Regions from separate parts of the Homo sapiens genome. Here all the other regions are linked to region 1. Evidence: promoter capture Hi-C in 16 types of primary human blood cells and fetal thymus (Javierre and others, 2016). All regions are on one chromosome and are shown on one strand. The core of a region is centred on a gene start or on the middle of the fragment in contact, and the rest is flanking DNA. Distances in the headings are between cores, read along the strand shown.

Region 1 (2,842 bases), core at 201-2,700:
TGTCCATCAATGATAGACTGGATTAAGAAAATGTGGCACATATACACCGTGGAATACTATGCAGCCATAAAAAATATGAGTTCATGTCCTTTGTAGGGACATGGATGAAGATGGAAACCATCATTCTCAGCAAACTATCGCAAGGACAAAAAACCAAACACCGCATGTTCTCACTCACAGGTGGGAATTGAACAATGAGAGCACTTGGACACAGGAAGGGGAACATCACACCCAGGGGCCTATTGTGGGATGCGGGGAGCGGGGAGGGATAGCATTAGGAGTTATACCTAATGTAAATGACAAGTTAATGGGTGCAGCACATCAACATGGCACATGTATACATATGTAACAAACCTGCACGTTGTGCACTTGTACCCTAAAACTTAAAGTATAAAAAAAAAAAAGATCAATGCAGTGATCATGGTGATATTTTCCTGCTCAGCCCAAGTTCACACATATTTTATTTTTCTCAACATGATGACAGCCACTCTCACACTGACTTTTGGAATGTCATGTATGTTGAACTGGGTCTGAAGACATGGTTTTAACTCAGGCTCTGTCATTTTCTACCTCAGTGATTGCACAACAGCAAAGCAGAATTTTCACTACTTCCATGAATATAATCATTACTATATGACTTTACTTGCATCATCTCCTTTGGTTACTATTACTACTGTGGGAGATGGGTATTCTCATTTTATAGACAAGGAAATTGACCTCTGGACCTCAGGAAGGTTAAGAAATGAGCCCACTGCCACACAATAAACACCAGATAAAGGAGGCAGACTGACTCCAAAGTCAGTCTATTTAAGTGCAAATTTATTTCGCCTCCAAAGGGACCTCCCAGTCATCAGACCTGATTCTTTGTTGTACAGAGTGGGTCAGGTCCAGTGATGTCTGAACTACCTTCTGGTTCTGACTTTCAGCCATTCTCAGCTCCTCTCTTGCTTGTGTCTGGATTCTAAGGCTGATCTCATGAGAATGGGTGTTTCAGAAGGGTGCCCTCTCCAAGACAGGTGCACCTCCCATCTGGGGCAGTGAATATCCCTTTTGTCCTTATGCAGCCTGGCTTCAGATACTGGCTTCTGCCTGGCTCCTTGATCCCACCCTGCCCTTGTCAGTGACCAAGAAGAAGCCCAGCACCTTGGCACTGCTTTCCCAGTTAATTTCTAACTATGGAATCTCTTGCTGTTAGAAGGTGCGAAACAGTGACCTTGTATTTCCGGGCACAGGTGTGACCCCCCAATGTCAATCATTTGGGGTCTCTAGCTATTAGGAAAAAGAACAACAACAACCTCACAGCTTGGACAAGGCAAACATTATGCCAGGAGGAAAAAATATTCCACCCCCAAGAAAACAATATCAAAAAACAGAACTAGAGACTAATTGGAGGAGAGATTGCCAGCCTGGGGCAAATGTGTATATATAAGTATGAGGCACATCATGACCAGACTAACTCTACCTTTCTGGCTTCAGGTAAGGCTATCTGTAGCTGTCTTCTCCTAGCCCAGCTTCTCCCCATCCTATTTGAGGGAGGTAGGAGAGGAAATTAAGACCTTGGACACTGGGGTCAGACCTGGATTTGAGTCATTATTCTGCCAATTATTGGCTTCATGATCTTTAGTAAGTTAGTTTTCCTCTCTTTGATCCTCTCTGTCCTAGTAACAATGACTACTATTTTTTGACTTATTCCATGAATATTAGTTATGCACCTATTATGTGCCAGGTACCAGGGTTACAACAATGAACAACTTGCTATGTGCTGGGCCCTGCTCGACATATGTCATCTTAGTTAATCCCAGTGACAATATGCAGTGTTTTAGGTCGCATCTTATTAGCGGGTCATAAAATCATTCCTTTTGTGGGTTATATCCAGGGACTTCTTTTAATTAAATATAATAGAATATGTCAGTAAGCAATACAAATTTGAGGCAAGCAGTTAGCCTCTTTGTCCCCCTGTTTTCTCATCTGCAAACTAGGATAATACTTATCTCATAGGGTTGTGGTAAGAATTAAATCACTTAATGTAGTAAGGATATCAATTGTCTTATAAAATTTTATGTGTGTGTGCACATACATGCAGAAGCGACTGCACTAGATCATGACATAAAATGTTTTTCTTTCTTTCTGTCTTTTTTTTTTTGGGGGGGGGGGATGGACTCTCTGTCACCCAGGCAGGAGTGCAGTGGCACGATCTCAGCTCACTGCAACCTCTGCCTCCCAGGTTCAAGCAATCCTCCTGTCTCAGCCTCCCGAGTAGCTGGGATTACAGGCGCCCACCACCATGCCCGGCTAATTTTTGTATTTTTATTAGAGATGGGGTTTCACCATGCTGGCCAGGCTGGTCTCAAACTCCTGACCTTGTGATCCACCCCCTCAGTCTCCCAAAGTGTTGGGATTACAGGCATGAGCCACTGCACCTGGCAACATAAAATGTTTTTCTTTTAGTACATCATGGTCACGAAGATCTGGAAAACGTTGCTCTAGGACCCAATGCCTTTGAGCACATGAATGTCTTTGAACTGAGCCTGGCCCATCATAGATATTCAGTTTGTGAAAGCAACAATCTCCATTTCACAGACAAAAACGGAGACTTAGTAAACTGAAATACCCACATCACAGTGTTAGTGATCAGTAAAGCAGGGATTTGAACCTCAGGTGCAGGCTGCAGCTCCTACATACTTAACCAACATGCCACCCTATTTTGCTGCTATAAACACTGGGGTAATACTGGCATCCACCCTGGACTATTTTTCCAATTGGAAGAAATAGTAAGTGACCACTCCAGAAACATTTAAATGCATTGTGAAGGTTAATTACCTCTCAAGTTGCTCGTCTCAAG
Region 2 (2,842 bases), core at 114-2,613, 420 kb after region 1:
CAGATCCTGACTCCCCTCACTCTATCCTTCCTTTGTCCCGAATCATCTCCCTCACTTCCTTCAAAGTTTTGCTCAAATGTCCCTTTCTCAGTAAGGCTCTCGCTGCACATTCTACTTTAAACTACAACATCTGGAATATCCAAATGACTAACAAAATGTGGAAAGGGTTTACTTCATTCACGGTTAACGAAATGCAACTTAAACCACAAAATGCACTGCCCCTTTGCAACCAAGCTTCTCAGAGAAAGGAGCCTAATGTATTTGTACTTTCTCTATCTTTTTCACTTCTCAGTCCCTGCAATCCTGCTGCAGTCTCTAAAACAGCTCTTCGCGAGGATTGCCAATAACCTCAAGTTTGCTAAATGTCATGGAAACCTTGCAAATTGTGTTCTGGTTAGCCTCTCAAAAAGGAGAGTGGCCCCTCAAAATCCCACACCGGCTGGATCAACCACCTCCCCACAACCCCCATGATCAGGAAAGGACATGTCCTGGCTATATTCCAAATGCCCCCCAGCACCCAGGCACTATGGAGGAAACCAAAGGGAGAAGAAGAACCAAAAACCTTGCAAGGTAATTATGGGCAGGATATATATATACAAACATATAAGGCAGCAAACCATACGGGGGCAATTCACTAGAAAACAGGAGGTATAAGTGTTCAGCAAAGTTGGATAATGGCATCTCCAACCAAAGCCTTCGAGAGGCTCCATTATCCCAAGTCCTCCATCATCCCAAACCCTCCACAAGGTGATGACCTGCCACACCACCCACCATAACCAGGCCCTGAGGTCGACACCAAGTGAAGGCAATAAATCTTCCATTATAGAAAACTCATAGCTACGAAGAGAGAAGCTGCCACAATATTGTGAAAGAAAATGAGCCAAGTGAGACATTATATCCAATCTCTGTATCCATCTCTTCACTTGAGAGCCTTCTGCTCAGGGAGATAAAGAGATAGAAATGTGACAGGTGGATGGATAAATAGGTAAGTAGGTAGGTAGGTAGGTAGATGAGATACTTCAAAATCTAACAGGAATACAAAAGAGGAGAGACTAGAGAAAACAGTTGAAAAGAACCAGTTTTTGGAGACAAAATGGCTGAGACTTTCCTAATCCTTGAAAAACATGTCACAGTCAAGTCCTGAGCAGGATAAAAAAAATTAAATTCACACCCAGACACATCGTGCTAAATACAGAGAAGATCTCGAAATCAAACAGGAAGAAATTACAGACTATGTATCAAAATAGGATATAATGGAAGCTTTCATCAATCTTGGGAAAGGTAGGGTAGTATCTGGGGACAACCAAACTTGGACATTCTAATACTTTCTGGGGTCTCTGTCCTAACTCTCGCATTCCTGCTTCTCTGGGCCTGTTTCTAACACACACTCTGCACTATCAATCACAAAAAGAGACTGCCGCTGCATTCCCACCTCTCCTTCAAAAAGAATCCCAGAGAAAGCTTCTGATTGGTCCAATGGGAGGTCATGTGCTCACCCTTGGGCCAATCAACTATGGCTACGAGGGTGAAACCTGAAATTGACAATCCCCACAAGAATCCTCAGGTGGGAATGGAATAGGGAAGAATAGCAAACGCAGTTCAACAAAGGAAGGTTGGCAGCGACTGGAGGTGGGAGAAAAATGAAGCATTCCCAGAAGAAGGGAGGAGTACTGGGCAGACGAAACAGCAAATACTGCCTGCACTACATTTTCTGATCCTCTGAGAAAGGAGATGGGCTTATTTCTGAATTCATTCATAACCAATTCCCTTCCTTCTCTGTTATCAGCAAAATAGAGAGATTAAGGGTTTGGGTTCCGGAGCAAGACTGCCTGGGTTCAGATACGAACTCTTACTAACTGTGTGACCTTAGACAAGGTACTTAACTTCTCTGTACCACAGTTTCCTCAACTATCAAATAGGGATAGTCTATGACCTACTTCTGAGATTGTTTGAGGATGAAACGGGTTTATACAAGTACAGGTGTAAATGTTCAAACAGCGGCTGGAACGTGGTAAATGATTTAAAAATGTCAGGCATTATTATTTTAGAATAATCAGTATAAAGTTAAGAAGCGAGTATAGAACAGGATCTCTCAACCACGGCATCAATGACACTTAGGGCTGGACCAATTTTTGTTTTAGGAGCTGTTTGGTGCACTGTAGGGCATTTAGCAGCACCTCTGTCCTCTACCCACTAGATGCTGGTAGCACACCTACCCCAAATTGTGGCATCCAAAAATGTCTCCAGACATGGCCAAAATGTCCCCTTGGGTGGACATTTCCAGTCGAGAACCACTGCTATATAAAGAACAATAGGTGGGAGGTAGGAGGCTTGGGGTCTAGGCACGGCTCCACCCTCATTGCTGGACACTCCTTGGTAAGTTTCTTGATCCCTTTGGGCCTTGCTTTTCTTATTCATTACATGGAGATGACACCTACCCTACCTCCTGGAGCTGTTACAAGAGTCAAACCTATCAAAGGATACAAAAGGTACCATAGAAAGCTCTGAGATCTCCCAGTCCCACCCCCACAAATCCTGTCCATATTCTCCTGGGTCAGGAAACCCAGCTTCGAAGAAATGAATGGAGAAAAGGAACAAGAAAAGAAAACTAACATGAATGGTTACCATGGCCAAACATGTTACATTCATTCTTTCCTTTGGTGATCACCACACTACCAGGCTAGTTGCTGTCATTCCCATTTTACAGGTAATGCAACTGAGGCCTAAAAGGGTTTGAAAATGAGCAAGCCAGGCGGGCACGGTGGCACTTTGGGAGACCGAGGTGGGTGGATCACTTGAGGTCAGGAGTTAGAGACCAGCCTGACCAACATGGTGTAACCCT
Region 3 (2,842 bases), core at 100-2,599, 390 kb after region 1:
TCTCACCTGTATCATAAAGAATAAGCTTTAGCTTGCAGGGAATCAGGAAAAAGACAGTAGAAATCCTGTTAAGTTAGGAAAATGGAAGAAAAATTTGAAAACATTAGTTTGGAGACTTGTAGCCCAGAAAGGACTTAAGATTCAATCCAAATAGCAGCAAATAATTTTTCAACTCAAAAACAATGAACAAAAACAATGAACAAGAACAGAATCTAACAGCAGGTATATTATAAGCTTTCTCTATCCAGTCTTTCATTTTTATCAGTGGCAAATCACAGCAGGACCAATTTGCAAAACAAGTTTTGATCTTATTATACTTGGCCTGATTATTTGCATAAGGTACAACAAAAATAATTATTTCCCATACAGACCGTCTTCTAAATTGGCTTTCCTAGAACTTTTTCCATAAGGAATATCAGATTTGACACTTTTTAAAGCCTCGAGCCCAGTCACATATTTATCTGTGCCTGCAAATACTTATATGAGTTGGGTGAATTCCTCTCTTCTGGAGGTCCCAAGATAAACGGGGGCTTCTGGGCCCGTTAGAAAGTGATGTTCTTGCCTGGCATGGTGGCTCACCCCTGTAATCCCAGCACTTTGGGAGGCCGAGGCGGGCAAATCACCTGAGGTTAGGAGTTTGAGACCAGCCTGGCCAACATGGTGAAACGTCGTCTCTACTAAAAATACAAAAATTAGCCAGGTGTTGTGGCAGGCACCTGTAGTCTCAGCTACTCGGGAGGCTGAGGCAGGAGAATCCTTTGAACCCAGGAGGCAGAGGTCGCACTGAGCCAAGATCATGCCACTGCACTCCAGCCTGGGTGACAGTGAGACTCTGTCTCAAAAAAAAAAAGTGATGTTCTTTACTTACCACAGTTAGGTACCCTATACAGGGACTATGTAGACAAGGTATGAGACCAGTTCTCCCAAGGAGATTTATCAGCTCTGTAAGTCAACTTTGATTCCCTAAAGCAGTCTGCTTATATGTGAAAGCATGTCATTTCAGTGAAAGCCTGGGTAAAATAACCACTGTCTCCAAGTGTGTCCTATTATAAAAGAAAACAGATTCTTATTGCACTTACGCAAATAACTATGTTGCCATAAGTTAAGAATACTCACAAATAGTTTTCAAATTCTATTTGAAAATAGAGAAATCAGGCAGAGAAAATTTGTTCACAGGAGCGTACTTTACTCAATTGTTAAAACTTATAAAGTAGCTCAAAAGAAAAAAAAGTGTTCTTGACTCTGAAAAACAAAACAAAAAGGACCAGCAACATTTCAAGCAAAATCTTTTATTAGTTTGGTCCGTGCAATTAACTTCTGGTCTGCTCAATATTTATGAACACATTACCTCCCCAAGAGAGTCTTGGAAATTTTTCCCTCTATTCTAATGACTCAATCCTCAAAGTTATCAGAGACCTGAATTCAAGAGTACCTGTCAGAGTCTTCTAGCTGATTATAAACTGTCTTTTGAATGAGATCAAAACAAGACGATTGTCTGTAGAGGACAAAAGTCTTAGGGCAGCCACAGTTAAAGATGCAATTGACAAGGAAATCTGGTCATCTCTGTGGCACACAGTCATTTAACATAATAATCATAATTATTAACAACATAATACTGAGATATATTAGAATTATAGGAATTTTATATAATTTTGTGATACATACAAATAACATATAAATATAACCCAAAGAAAGTTAAACACCGTTTTATATTTGACAATGTTTCCTGCAGTTTTTATGTACCAAATAAGCTAGATACGTCTCTTTTGGACTTCAGGGAACCTAATATCTAAAAAGGTCAATCAAGTCAAAAAAAGATTAGAGTATGATTTTGAAAAGTTAATCAAATATCAAAGGTTTAAAACACTTTTCATCACAAAATAGAACCACAGTTTATTTTAGTCAAAGTGATTAACTCAAATATTTCAAAAAAGCAAAACTCCATTAGTCTTTTATAGAGAGGAGACAGCTTTCCAAACAACAAAAACCAAAAAAGACAGCATGAAGCCAGCTGAATCTGTCTCTTCTCTCTCCCTTTTTCCTGCAGGCAAATGAAAATCTTGCTTAAAAGGGAAAACCATATGCTACCTCTGCATTAGTGTATTAATGCTAAAGTTCATTTTAATAAAATTTTATAAGGAAATCTATCGAATTGTAACCCATTTGACCATAAGGTAAGAATTTTATAAACCTTTTATAACCCTTTATAATTTTTTGTTAAAGAACAGATCAATACTCCAAGAAAACCCTGTTGTTCTGACACATGGGCCCAAATTCTGGCCCTGCATCAATATGATTTTATTTTAATGTGTAATTTATGGGAAAACTAAATAATAATCTTAATTTTAGCCAACTTGCTCACACACAGAATTTTCTTAATAATATTAATTTGTCACAAACCTTCTTCAACTTGCTTAAACCATCAGTTTTATTCTACCTTTCTTTTAACCTAAGACAAGCTTTAAACCTGCAAACCCTGAAAATCTCAGACAGGTCTCAGTTAATTTAGAAAGTTTATTTAGCCAAGGTTGAGGACAGACGCCCGAGATACAGCCTCAGGAGGTCTTGATAACATGTGCCCAAGGTGGTCAAGGCACAGCTTGGTTTTTTACTTTTAGGGAGATATGAGGCATCAATCAATACATGTAAGATGTACTATACGTTGGTTCCCTCTGGAAAAATGGGATAACTCAAGCAGGGAGGGGGCTTCCAGGTCACAGGTAGGTGAGAGACAAATGGGTTGCATTCTTTTTTTTCTTCTGCTTTTTTAAATTATTATTTGTTTTATTATTATACTTTAACTTCTGAGATACCTGTGCAGAACATACAGGTTTATTACATA
Region 4 (2,842 bases), core at 106-2,605, 340 kb before region 1:
AAGACTTTGGGATTCCAAAGACCCTGCATTTTACCAGGATACCAAATTGTTCCTCTGAGAATCCCAAGTGAATAAAAAGAGCCAACATCGACTATGCCCAGCACCGTGTGCTACATGCTTTTTATAAATTATTTCATCTAGTTCTAACAAACAAATGAAGAAGCAAAGAAAACACCCTGGGAGGTAGGTATTGTTGTTATCATTCCTATTTTACAAATAAGGTAGGTGTTGGGTGCTGTGGCTCATGCCTGTAATCCCAGCACTTTAGGAGGCTGAGGCGGGCAGATCACCTGAGGTCAAGAGCTCAAGACCACCCTGGCCAACATGATGAAACCCTGTCTCTATTAAAAATACAAAAATTAACTGGGTGTGGTGGCGGGCACCTATAATCCCAGCTACTTGGGAGGCTGAGGCAAGAGACTCAATTAAACCTGGGAGGCGGAGGTTGCAGTGAGCCAAGACCATGCCATTGCATTCCAGCCTGGGTGACAGCATGAGATTCTGTCTCAAAAGCAACCGAAAACCAATTAAGGGAGGTGAGGCCCAGAGCAAGAAGGTCCACAAAGATGACATGGAGGTTAAGTGGCAGACCTAAGGCTCAAACTCAGACCTTTCTGCCTCCAGACCTCCAGAGCCCAGGCTCTTATCCATTAGGCTACACTGACTCTCAGCTGTCATTTAAGGGAGACTATGGTGATGTAGGGCTGGGAAGGGGGAGCAGGTTAGCCACAGAGAACTAGTGAAAATGCACCATTGGATCTAGTTCATTCACACCCCTAGCCATGCCACCGGAATTGGAGGTGACTTCGTATACGTGGTTTGTTTTTCTTTTTTTTTTTTTTTTTGAGACAGAGTCTCTGTCTCCCAGGCTGGAGTGCAGTGGCATGATCTCGGCTCACTGCAAGCTCCGCCTCCCGTGTTCACGCCATTCTCCTGCCTCAGCCTCCCGAGTAGCTGGGACTACAGGCGCCCACCACCACACCCGGCTAATTTTTTGTATTTTTAGTAGAGACGGGGTTTCACCGTGTTAGCCAGGATGGTCTCCATCTCCTGACCTCGTGATCCGCCCGCCTCGGCCTCCCAATGTGCTGGGATTACAGGCGCGAGCCACTGCGCCCGGCCCACATGGTTTGTTTTCTAAGTGATTATCTCTCCGTGGAGGCCTGTAATTGTTTCTGTCCTATTTTACCTGAGCATCTCCTCCCCCTACTGAATTACCCAATTCCTAACAAGTTCTCTGTTCAAGGTCCCCCTTCGCTGTGGCCAGAAGCCAAGTTCTGCTGGGTGCACAATCCTGCGGATCACCTGATCAGAGAGAACTGAACCTACAAAAGAGAGCTCAACCTCCTTTTCCATACCTACCAGGGACCTAGTTCAGCTACGTCCTAAACAGTACCAGGTAAGACAGAGGTGAAGGTCAGCTTCTATCTGTGTGTGTGTGTGTGTGTGTGTGTGTGTGTGTGTGTGTGTGTGTGTGTAATCCAATTTTAAGTTCTGGCAATGCTACTTTTAAGTTGAGTGACCTTGGGCAAGTCACTTAACTTCTTGGCACTTCATTTTAGAGGCAAAATGACAATGGTGATATTGGGTGAGAGGAATAAATAGGAACGTACATGTAATATGTTTAGCACAGTGGCTGGCATGTAAATGGGGACTGGTTTAGTGTCAGGCAGCTCTGAATGTGGTGAGCCGTGGGAGACAGGCACAAAGTCAGAGATGAATGTTTGAAGGAAATCTTTTCTATCTATGCAGAAGTTGGCTCACTTTCTATAAAGTGAATGCCTTCTAAAAAAAATTATCCAAGCATAGTAATACATGCCTGTGGTCCCAGGTACTTGAAAGGCTGAGGCAGGAGGATGACTGTAGCCCAGGAGATTGAGGCTGCAGTGAGCTATGATCACACCACTGCACTCCAGTCCAGGTGACAGTTTCAAAAAAAATGGTTAACATCTAATGGGGAGGGGGTTGGCTTCAGAATTTGCTGGGAGTTAAAAGGTACCTCAACATTTATTGAGTCCTTACCGTGCACTTCATTCAGTGCCAGCAAGTAAATTATCACACTAATCCTTATGGGGAGCTGGGAAGAAGGTATTACTACTGTGCGCTTAAGTTCAGAGACATGAACAGCACCAAAGACCCAGCTGCTAGACAACAGAGACAAACATCTAGCCCTGGCTCTGTAACTCTGGGATACCCTATAACACAGTAAGTATGTTGCTTCATTAAATAGCTTTATCAGTCCCAAGTCCTGTGAAGTCAAAGCTTAGTTGCAGGAGCTGTTCAAGGCACTATGTATCTGGGAATACAGTGGGGAGCCCAGCTGCCTCTCAAAGCTACCATGTCAAATTGCTTTCAGAATGCACTTTAAGCAGTTCAGAAAATTGTTCTTTAAAATGATTTCATAGGATGTGCTTTAATGATATGCTCTAACAGGGTAGGAACTCTTTCAGTTTAATTAATCTCCAATAGTATCTAAAACTGTACATGGTACATCTATAGTAAATACTTGAGAAAGAAAAAATACATTTTTCTATAACTCAGATAATTTGTGGGCACACTGGCTTTTCTCTTTCTGACTTTCATCACTCAGTTTTCTGAATTATGACAAAGAAGGGAAGAATCTAACTTTTTGTTGAGCACTTACTATGTCCAGCACGGTGAGAAATAGACAAACTAAGCTTTGTGAAGTCAAATCTGAAGACAGATGTGGATGGAAATAGATATCGAAACAGAGACAGAGACGGAGATAGAGATAGAGACAGAGATAGTGATAGAGATAGAGACATGCATCACTTAACAACCAAGATACGTCTGAGAAATGCATTGTTAGGTGATTTTGTTA

The links. Contacts are between HindIII fragments. The CHiCAGO score rates a contact against its expected background, and 5 or more counts as called.
Region 2: a contact is called between a fragment that was not itself captured here and the fragment with the promoter of UMOD in region 1, in 1 of 17 cell types (M1 macrophages). The highest score is 5.9, in M1 macrophages.
Region 3: a fragment that was not itself captured here is called in contact with the fragment with the promoter of UMOD in region 1 in 1 of 17 cell types (endothelial precursors); the score reaches 5.2 in endothelial precursors.
Region 4: the fragment with the promoter of ACSM1 here is called in contact with the fragment with the promoter of UMOD in region 1 in 2 of 17 cell types (M1 macrophages and M0 macrophages); the score reaches 6.0 in M1 macrophages.

What each region holds. Positions count from the first base shown.
Region 1 is chr16:20,351,323-20,354,164 of GRCh38, reverse strand. It overlaps UMOD (uromodulin), which reads left to right and starts at 1,450. Exons shown (of 11, transcript NM_003361.4): 1 at 1,450-1,476. The HindIII fragment of the contact is 11,139 bases long and covers 1-2,842 here.
Region 2 is chr16:19,932,582-19,935,423 of GRCh38, reverse strand. No RefSeq gene overlaps it. Among named protein-coding and RNA genes, the nearest start is that of GPRC5B, 49 kb to the right of the region's middle. The HindIII fragment of the contact is 201 bases long and covers 1,263-1,463 here.
Region 3 is chr16:19,956,361-19,959,202 of GRCh38, reverse strand. No RefSeq gene overlaps it. Among named protein-coding and RNA genes, the nearest start is that of GPRC5B, 73 kb to the right of the region's middle. The HindIII fragment of the contact is 2,225 bases long and covers 237-2,461 here.
Region 4 is chr16:20,696,193-20,699,034 of GRCh38, reverse strand. ACSM1 (acyl-CoA synthetase medium chain family member 1) reads left to right here and starts at 1,355. Exons shown (of 14, transcript NM_001318890.3): 1 at 1,355-1,399. It also overlaps a transcript of ACSM3 not described here. The HindIII fragment of the contact is 2,330 bases long and covers 1-2,264 here.